Regions from separate parts of the Homo sapiens genome. Here region 2 is linked to region 1. The links are contacts of gene promoters, found by promoter capture Hi-C in blood cells and fetal thymus (Javierre and others, 2016). All regions are on one chromosome and are shown on one strand. The core of a region is centred on a gene start or on the middle of the fragment in contact, and the rest is flanking DNA. Distances in the headings are between cores, read along the strand shown.

The links. Contacts are between HindIII fragments. The CHiCAGO score rates a contact against its expected background, and 5 or more counts as called.
Region 2: a fragment that was not itself captured here is called in contact with the fragment with the promoter of SH3BP1 in region 1 in 4 of 17 cell types (endothelial precursors, M0 macrophages, M1 macrophages and 1 more); the score reaches 10.5 in endothelial precursors.

What each region holds. Positions count from the first base shown.
Region 1 is chr22:37,638,419-37,642,879 of GRCh38, forward strand. SH3BP1 (SH3 domain binding protein 1) reads left to right here and starts at 1,251. Exons shown (of 18, transcript NM_018957.6): 1 at 1,251-1,428; 2 at 2,708-2,750; 3 at 2,956-3,060; 4 at 4,121-4,197. The coding sequence starts at 1,370. It overlaps PDXP-DT (PDXP divergent transcript), which reads right to left. Exons shown (of 6, transcript NR_109952.1): 6 at 3,414-4,461. RefSeq lists silencers at 1-218, 849-998, 1,029-1,468. The HindIII fragment of the contact is 8,436 bases long and covers 1-4,124 here.
Region 2 is chr22:37,727,331-37,732,824 of GRCh38, forward strand. All of the region lies in intron 7 of TRIOBP (TRIO and F-actin binding protein), which reads left to right. Among named protein-coding and RNA genes, the nearest start is that of TRIOBP, 33 kb to the left of the region's middle. The HindIII fragment of the contact is 1,708 bases long and covers 1,161-2,868 here.

The DNA.
Region 1 (4,461 bases), core at 1-2,500:
CAATGAGTCCTGCCTCATTAGGGAGGAGAGAAGCAGCCAGTGAGTGTGCCAGGCCCTGGGCTAGGTGCTGGGAGTATGGAGATGTGTGGGGCCAAGGTCCTGCCTCTGAGAGGCGCCCAGTCTGCACCGGCACACAGTCTGCACCGGCACACAGTAGTGGCTCAAATAGTCTCAAACTAAACTGAAACTAACAAAGCAAAGTGCAGAGGGTGTGGCAGGACTCTGGGGCACACCCTCCCCTCTTCCCCACGCCTGCGGCTCCTGATGCCACAGGGGTGCAGGGTAAGGAGAGCCTACTGTTTCCTAAAGGCGCTCACATCTTGTAAAACCAGCAGTTATGGAGCACTTACTGTATGCCTAACTCTGTGTTGAGTGGAGGGCCAAAGAGGAGAACTACTGAGTTTGGGGGCAGTCAGAGCAGCACCTACATCATTGCCCTACAAGAAGGAAGGGGGACTGAGGCTGTTTGCCAGGAGGAATGAGAGGAGACGGGCTTCACAGATGGAGCAAACTGCCAGGAGATGTGGAGAACAGGGTGTCGCGAACCGCTCTGGGAGGGTTCCTGGTGGCTGAGGGGTGGCACGCACCTCCCTTAAAGGGAGCTGGCAGGGGTGTCTTGTCCACTCTGCAGAATGGGCAGGCCCAGGACAGCTGGCCCATCAGACCATTAGAAACAGCGAGTCCGGAGTTCCAGGGGCTTGTCCACGGCCACACAGCAGCCCGTGGCCCCAGGAAGCCAAAGCTCCCAGCCAGTCATCCAGTGGTGGGGGGTTTAGTTCCAGGGGGCCAGAGGTCCTCTGCGGAAGAGAGTGCAAGGCAGTATCCGCGGCAGGCCCAGAGAGGCCAGGACAGGTCAGAAAGGCCTACCCCTCTTTCGCTTGGTACCCTTTCCTCTTTGCGAGGGATGCAAAGGTTATTTATACTTCGGGTCTGCAGGCTGCGGGTGGGGCAGGCACCCCGCCTGGGGCGGGTTGCGGGCGCAGGGGCAGGAATGGGCTTACCTGCTTCCCGCCACCGGGGCTGGGCGGGGCGCTGCGGGGAGGAGGAGCCGGGCACAACCTGTGGACGGCCGCGGCCGGCGGACACACAGCAGCGGGGGCCCGGCCGGGGGTCGCCCGGGGGCCCGGAAGCCGGGGAAGAGCGAGGAAACCAACTTGGAGAGAGGAGTGACCTGGGGGCCGGGGGCGGAGTCGTGAGCGGGGGAGGAGAGAGCCGGCCGCCAGCAAGAGCCGCGCGGCGGCCCAGGAAGCGAGAGCGCCGCCCACCCATCCGGGGCAAGAGCCGCGCCGCAGGAGAGGCAGGCTGGACCGGGGGCTCCCCGGGCCCGCGACCCCCGCCGTGACCCCGCAGCCCCCAGCTCGCCCCCAAGATGATGAAGAGGCAGCTGCACCGCATGCGGCAGCTGGCCCAGACGGGCAGCTTGGGACGGTGAGTGTCACCCGCTTCCAGCCCCACTCTTACCCCGGCAGGACTTGAGGGGTCGTAAAAGGGTCGGGGGAGACGGGGGTGGGGGAGGCTGGGGACAGCTGGGCAGCCACCCTCTGAGCGGCCAGACTCCTGCTCTCTCTTCCTCCTCTCTGAACGCCGCCCCCGTCTCTCGGGCAGAGCTGGAGGAGCAAGGGTGGCCTTTGGGGGAAGGGATGCCCCCCCTTACCGGATTGGAGGGGGCTTCAGGCGGGAGAATGCTCTCTGCCCTAGGACGCTGGGACTTCTCTGCCTCCACGAGTCTCTAAGTGGATGGTCCTCCTGACCTCACTTGTCCCCTCTGGACAATGGGACAGTTCACCACCTCTGCTTGCTGGGCCGGGGAGGGAGGAGGGTCGATTAGGGCCACAGACCTGGGGCGAGGGGAGGAGATGGGTCCTGGCCTGGTGGGAGGAGGGGCCTGCCCCTGGCCTGCAGCGTCCCTCCCCCTCCCCCTCCCCCCAGCCCAGGGGCCTCCTGCTTCTGTCTCGTTTCTGCTTTTCCTGGACTCAGGTGGAAATATCCCCAGGTCTCCCAGCTCCCACCCCCAGCCTCTGAGCCGGTGGCACGGAGGCCGGAAGTTTGGGGAGCCTCTCAGAGCCTGTCTTCTCTGCTCCTCTTCCCCCAGCCTCAGGAGTTCCCCATTCTCTGGGTCCAGGGAGGGGACTGGGTGTCCAGAGACCTGGTTCTAGTCTCACACTGGCACAGATGCCTACATAGCCTGGACAGTCAGACCACCTTGCAGTGGGCCTTGGCATCCCCCATGTGTCCCCAGGTGGGGGCCAAGGGCCTGTGCACCCCTGCCCACAGCTGTAGTCCAGAGTGCTGTGTGACTGTGCCTAGGAGTCTGAGCTCCTGCACTTCCCGTTCTTGGGGCCAGCTAATACTCCTCATCCCGGGGTGGGCTGAGGATTTGGGAGTGGGCAGAAAAGAGGCTTCTGTGTCCCAAAGCTGGGCCCCGGGTGGGTCTCTCAGCCTCCCCTTTAGTTTCATCTGTCCGCCCTCTCTCAGGACACAGCCCTGGGTGGAGGAGGAAAAACCCATGTATCCTATTCCCACCCCCATGGAATGTGCTCCGACTGGGATGAAGCAACTGGGCCACCCAGGGCAGGCCTCAGCTGGGAGGGACAGTGGAAGCACTGGGGTCCAGGTGCCCTGCTGCGGGGAAGGGAAGTAGGGGGCGTTCTAACCCAGGCAGGCTCAGCAGAAGCACTCTCCCCCCCCCCCCCACCACTCCCCGCAGCACCCCGGAGACCGCTGAGTTCCTGGGTGAGGACCTGCTGCAGGTACGTGCCTGGGCCGGGCAGGTGGGAAGGCAGGCCTGTGCAGGCTGTCTCGGAGCAGAGGGCCGGGGCGGGGACGCCAGGTAGGGGCCTGGGTTGAGTCATTCCTCAAGCTGTTGGCCATGGGGTCCCCAGGGGACAGGAGAAAGTTTCCTGCTCAGGGGGAGACAGCCTCTCTTGATCCTTAACCTCCATACCTCCTTCCCAGGTAGAACAGCGGCTGGAGCCGGCCAAGCGGGCAGCCCACAACATCCACAAGCGGCTGCAGGCCTGTCTGCAGGGCCAGAGCGGGGCAGACATGGACAAGCGGGTGGTGAGTGGGGGGTCCCGGGAAGGAGGGGCCTGAGCAGGAGACTTCCATCCAATGGGGAAGCAAGGTCGGGGCTGGGGTTTCCTTGCCAGTCTGAGTGTCTGGCACCAAGGGCATGGAGACTGCTCTGTTCCAAGGCCCCTCTGGCACTGCACTCAAGAGGCCCTATACCTTCCCCATCACCTTTACCCCACTTCCCTGTGCACCAGTTCCCATAAGCCAAGGCCAGGCTTCTGACAGCACCTGAACTTCTCTGTCCAATCAGTGCGCAAGAGCAGGCTGTCAATGGGGCGGCCTCAGAGGGTTTCCTGAAGGAGGTAGCAATTGAGCTGGCTTTTGAGGGATACACGTTTATTAATCAAGAGGCAGCGTTTATTGGCTGATAACCGCCAGCTTGTTACTAACATATGAGTGCACTGTCTCATGGAACACTGGCACAACCCTAGGGGCAGGCATTGCTTTACACATGAGGAACTGGAGGCTCAGAGATAAAGTCACTTGTCCAAGGTCACATAGCTAGTAAGTGGCAGAACTGAGGTTTGAACCCTGGTCTCTGATCCCAGAGCAGGCATTCCCCGTAACTCCAGATGGGGTGGGAGTGTGGGGCCATGTTTTGGAATCAGTTGACAATTCAGTGTGGCCAAGGCAAGGAAATTGGGAGCCATAGAGCGTTTGAACTCAGCGGTGGCTAGGTCAGCCATATATACCCTGGGACAGGGGAAAGAGCTCCCGCTCCCATTCTCCCTCCACCTGTGTGACCTGGGGCAAGCTCCCTGCCCTCCCTGCATCTTAGTTTCCCAGTCTGCAGTAGGACTTGGTCATTCCTTCCTGCCCAGTCAAGTGGCTTCTGGGAAGAGGAAAGGGCACGCCAGATGGAGAGGGGCTCCATCCATGCTCTCAGGGAAATGTCACCCCCACCACGCCTTGTCATCTTGTTTCCACTCTCATCTGGGACTGTGGCCCTCCTGGGTTCCCTCCTCCCCTGCCCCAAGGGGCTGGCCTGGTGCTCAGGCAGGGTGGAGGGAGGCACGGACACTCATCGCCGGCCCCACCCTCCCTGCAGAAGAAGCTTCCCCTCATGGCTCTGTCCACCACGATGGCTGAGAGCTTCAAGGAGCTGGACCCTGATTCCAGCATGGGGTGAGCACAGACGGGGCCCAGCCCTCACCTGGGGATACCAAGACGTGATCTCAGCTGGGAGGGGGTCCAGGTGGTGAGGGCATCCACATCAGAAGAATGACCAGGCTGGGGACAGTTCCCAGGTCAGTGAGGGTGGCCAGGCCTGGGAGGGTGTTCAGCTTAGCAGAGATGAAGGATATCTAGGAGGGGCCGGAAGTGAGGGAGGAGAGGCCCCACCAAGTGTTTCCAGTGGAGGTGAGGGCAGCGGGCGCCTGGACCCATGGG
Region 2 (5,494 bases), core at 765-3,264, 90 kb after region 1:
CATGGGTCCCTATGCATTTCAGAAAACAGTTATGTCAATTTAAAATGTATGGCCAGGGCCGGGCACGGTGGCTCATGCCTGTAATCCCAGCACTTGGGGAGGCCGAGGCGGGCGGATCACAAGGTCAGGAGATCGACAGCAGCCTGGCTAACACGGTGAAACCCCATCTCTACTAAAAATACAAAAAATTAGCTGGGCATGGTGGCGGGCGCCTGTAGTCCCAGCAACTCGGGAGGCTGAGGCAGGAGAATTGCTTGAACCTGGGAGGCGGAGCTTGCAGTGAGCCGAGATCGTACCACTGCACTCCAACCTGGGTGACAGAGTGAGACTCCATCTAAAAATAAAAATAAAATAAAAATGTATGGCCAGAGCTACCTATTTTAAGAAAGAAAGCTCACAGAATTATGGATTTTTAGCAGTCAAACATCCTGGGACACCTGAAGTCCAGGTGTCTTTTGAGTCTCCTTGGTCAGCAGCACTGGCCCCCTGGAAGGGGAGCATTTCCTCCTGATCAGGCTGAGGTTTCTCTCCCCAGAAGTTCCAGCCCTCGAGTTTTCAAGAATCAGAGCTAGAATTCCATTAGTTAGGGTCAAGAGAACAACAGCAACAAAAAGCAGTCTGGAAGTCTCAAAACTTTCCATGTATATAATTCAACGAATTTTTAGTTTATTTACCAAGTTGTCCAACCATTGCCACAATCTAACTTTAGAACATTTTCATCACCCTAAAGGGTATGGAATATTTTGTATCTAAAATTCCTCTTTGCTGCTCCTTGGGAAAGTTTTCTCCTGGATTTGAATCTGCATGAGAAACCTTATCAGTCTTGGCTGGGTGCAGTGGCTCCCTCCTGTAATCCCAGCACTGGAGCTTGCAGTGAGCCAAGATCATGCCACTACACTCCAGCCTGGGTGACAGAGTGAGACTCCGTCTCAAAAAAAAAAAAAAAAAAAAAAATTAGCCGGGCATAGTGGCACACGCCTGTAGTCCCAGCTACTCAGGAGGCTGAGGCAGCAGTATTGCCTGAATTTGGGAGGTGGAGTTTGCAGTGAGCTGAGATTGCGTCATTGCACTCCAGCCTGGGCAACAAGAGTGAAACTCCATCTCAAAAAAAGAAAAAAAAGAAACTTTATCTCTTGTTCTTCAAATTTCCTTTTCCAGTAAGCTTGATCATTTAATATCCAGATGACAACCGTGTGGTCTCCAGCATTAGTATAATTCTTTCTTTGGCCTTAAAAACAAAAACCCAGAGCAGTTTTAGGTTTACAGCAAAATTGAGCAGAAAGTGCAGTGTTCCATGCACAGCCTCTCCCACTACCAATATCCTGTACTAGATAGGTATGCTTGTTTCCAGCTCCTGGCCTCAAGGGATCCTCCTTTCTTGGCCTCTCAAAGTGCTGGTGAGCCACTGTACTGGGCAGTAGGGTGATACATTTGTTACAATCCATGAACCTACACTATGAAATCACCCAAAGTTTAGGGTTCACTCTTGGTGATGTACAGCCTATAGGCTTGAATGAATGTATGACAAGTATCCACCATTGTAACATCATGGAGTAGTTTCACCCTGAAAGTCTTCAGTGTCTTTAACTTTTTTTTTTGTTTGGAGATGGAGTCTCGCTCTGTCACCCAGGCTGGAGTGCAGTAGTGCAATCTTGGCTCACTGCAACCTCTGCCTTCTGGGTTCAAGCAGTTCTCCTGCCTCAGCCTCCCGAGGAGCTGGGACTACAGGAGCATGCCGCCACATCCGGCTAATTTTTTTGTATTTTTAGTAGCGACAGGGTTTCACCCTGTTGCCCAGGCTAGTCTTGAACTCCTGAGCTCAGGCAATCTACCCACCTCGGCCTCCCAAAGTGCTGGGATTATAGGCGTGAGCCACCGTGCCTGGTCTGACCTTTTTTTTTTTTGAAACAGGGTCTTGCTTTGTCACCCAGCAGTAGTGCAGTGGCGTGATCATGGCTCACTGCGGCCTCAAACTGCCAGGCTCAAGCGATTCTCTCACCTCAGCCTCCTCAGTAGCTGGGACTACAGGCGTGTACCACTATACCCAGCTAATTTTTCTACTTTTTGTAGAGATGGAGTCTCACTTTGTTGCCCAGGTTGGTCTCAAACTCCTGGCCTCAAGCAATGCTCCCACCTTGGCCTCCCAAAGTGTCTTTGACCTTTTTATGATTACTATTTCTTGTCTAATGTCAATTTTCCTAACTTTGTCTTAACTAATAACTCAGCAGGGACATTAAGGTCTTTAAGCCAAAGTTAATTAATTTTCTTTCCTTTTTTCCAGGATAATTTCAGAGAGATAAGGTGTTTATATTAATAATAGAAATGAGAAATATGTTTACACTTTTATTAACCATTTGTTTTTACACGATCACTCCTATACATTTAATTCTACTCTCTTTGAAATAGCTTATTTACCTTTTAGGGAAGTTTTCATAATTTTACTGAATAATTAAAATTTTTCCTCTTATCTGGCACCTTTTCCAAGTAGAAAACCATTCATCCTCTGAATATGGAAAATTTTAAAACTGTGCAGTGTGTGTGTAAGGGACAGACTGGAGCTTATGAGCGGGTGGCTGTAGGAGTGTGCTTTTATTTTCTCCTATTTCCTCATCGATATGTATTTATTGAGCATCTACTCTGTCCAAGCATTGTCCCGAGTCTGGAAAATTTTTCTTAAAGGGTTGTCACATCAAAGCATTGGGAGTTTTGGCTTGATCTTAATTTTTTTTTCCTTAGATGCCTTTGGCATCTCTTAGAGTCACGTAGCATCCTGTGGTCATTTGAATTCAAAACCTAGCCTTCACTGGATTTGCTAGACTTGATGGCTTTGCTCCTTTAATTCTCTCTGGAGGTCGAAGAACCCATCTAAGCTTCCGAAGGAAACGTTTCCTTTGTCATGCTTGGTGCGGCCACATCAACCCTCGGGAACAGGTGGCCCCGAGGAGACGCTGTTGCTTCAGCATCGGACAAGCCAGGTCTCTGTTGGGGTTTCAGAATCTTCTTGAGTCCCTCACTCTTTTCTCTCAGTTCTACATGGGGGAAAAAAGGAAGGCGAGTTCTCAGGAGGAATGCTCATCAAGCAAGCTGGAGTTCGTATGGAAAATGCATCCATCCGGAAGAGAACACACAAGTGCCTTGCTTCCCTGCACCGGGTGTTTCCACTATTGTCCTCCTGGTCCTCCCCATTAGGGAGGAACAGCCCACTGGGTCACGTCTGGGCTCTTGCTTCATCGAAGCTCCTATACCCCAGTTCGGGGGAAAATTCACTCTAAGGCCTTCAGCTCTCACAGAGTAAGGAAACGCACTCACCTCCAATTAGATTACAAATTGGCTGGGTGCAGTGGCTCATGCTTGTAATGCCAAGACTTTGGGAGGTCAAGGCAGGTGGATTACCTGAGGTCAGGAGTTCAAAATGAGACCAGCCTGGCCAACATGGTGAAACCCCGTCTCTACTAAAAATATAAAAATTAGCTGGGCATGGTGGTGGACACCTGTAATCCCAGCTGCTCAGCAGGCTGAGGCAGGAAAATCACTTAAAACCAGAAGGCGGAGGTTGCAGTGAGCTGAGATTGCACCACTGCACTCCAGCCTGGGTGACAGAGCGAGACTCCATCTCAAAAAAAAAAAAAAAAAAAAAGTTACAAACAGCCTGCCCAGGGAGCCCTCAAGCTCAGAAACACTTCCTCCAGGGAACTTTGGTTCCTCTCCGAACCAGCTGCCAATAACTGCTAACAACTAACATTATTGTGCTTTATGGCTCTGATTCTAATGACATTGGCAAAAGACATGAAACAACAAAAAACTCCAACCCCATACTTTTTTTTTGAGACAGGATCTTGCTCTTTCACCCAGGCTGGAATGCAGTGGCATGATCATGGCTCACTGCAGCCTCAACCTCCCAGGCTGAAGCGATCCTCCCACCTCAGCTTCCCAAGTAGCTGGGACTACAGCCACGTACCACCATGCTCGGCTCATTAAAAAAATTTTTTTTTCCTAGAACAAGGTCTCATTCTGTTGCCAGGGCTGTCTCAAACTCCTCGACTCAAGTGATCCTCTGACCTCAGCCTCCCCAAGTGCTGGAATTACAGGTGTAAAGACACTGTACCTGGCCTCCCAACCCCATATATATATATATATATTTTTTGAGACAGGGTCTCACTATGTCACCCAGGCTGGAGTGCAGTGGCGCGATCTCAGCTCACTGCAACCTCCACCTCCTGGGGTCAAGCGATCCTCCTGCCTCAGCCTCCTGAGTAGCTGGGATTACAGGCACGTGCCACCACGCCTGGCTAAGTTTTGTATTTTTAGTAGAGATTGGGTTTCACTATGTTGACCAGGCTGGTCTCGAACTCCTGACCTCAAGTGATCCACCCACCTCAGCCTCCCAAAGTGCTGTGATTAGAGGCATGAGCCACCACACCTGGGCTAATTTTTGTATTTTTAGAGACTAGGTTTCACTATGTTGTCTAGGCTGGTCTTGAACTCCTGAGCTCAAGCCATCCGCCTGCCTCAGCCTCCCAAAGTTCTGGGATTACAGGCGTGACCCATTGCGCCCTGCCCAATCCCATACTTTTGAAGGTGTCGTTCCAGCATGGCTCCTCAGGCACAGGCCCACCACAGACAGCAGGGCCTATGGAGGCCTGAGCAGAGTTTCCTCATACTTCCCTTTTTGCTGCCTCACTCTGGGTCCACCACAGGGTGGCCTTTTTCAGGCTTCTCTTCCTGGTTCAGTTCATCGACCAAAGACATGGCTCCATTTGCTAACTGAGACCCAACCAAAATAAACATTCATGGAGTGGTTGGGCCTTTTGTTGTGACCCCTTAGGTAGAGGAAGGGAGAGATATGCCCAGGTTCTGTTTGGTGTTTCTACCTGTCAATAGAGATACCACGTTAATCATTAACAGCCATGCCTCCCAGTTAGTAAGCAAGACAACTAACTGGAACTAGACTTTTTACACAAGTTAGAGATGATCTTCATCGGATGCGTCAACAATGCCTGAAGCCCAGTGTCTTAGAAACAACACTTGCCCAGGGTCAGGCGTGGTGGCTCATGCCTGTAATCCCAGCTACTTGGGAGATTAAGGCAGAGAATCACTTGAACCCGGGAGATGGAAGTTGCAGTGAGCCGAGATCGCGCCACTGCACTCCAGCCTGGGTGACAGAGCGAGACTCCATCTCAAAAAAAAAAAAAAAAAAAAGACACTTGCTTGGACAGTTTATGTTGGCCTCTCTGAAGTTGTCAGGGAGAATGTTTCTTTCTTCTGATCTTGCTCAGAGCTCTTTTGCCAACAGCTAGGATGGCCTGGAGTTTTCAAGGCTAAGCGCTGGGATTCTGTTGGTTAACAGTGATGGGAGGGAAAAAGGAAAAGAAATCCAAAATTTACAATATGGACAGGAAAAGGCAGAAAGAATGGAACACGGGGGCACACAGCAGTCTGGCTCTGTCGTCCCACCTCGTGGGCTGCGATCATGATACAAGTGCTTGGCCCCTGG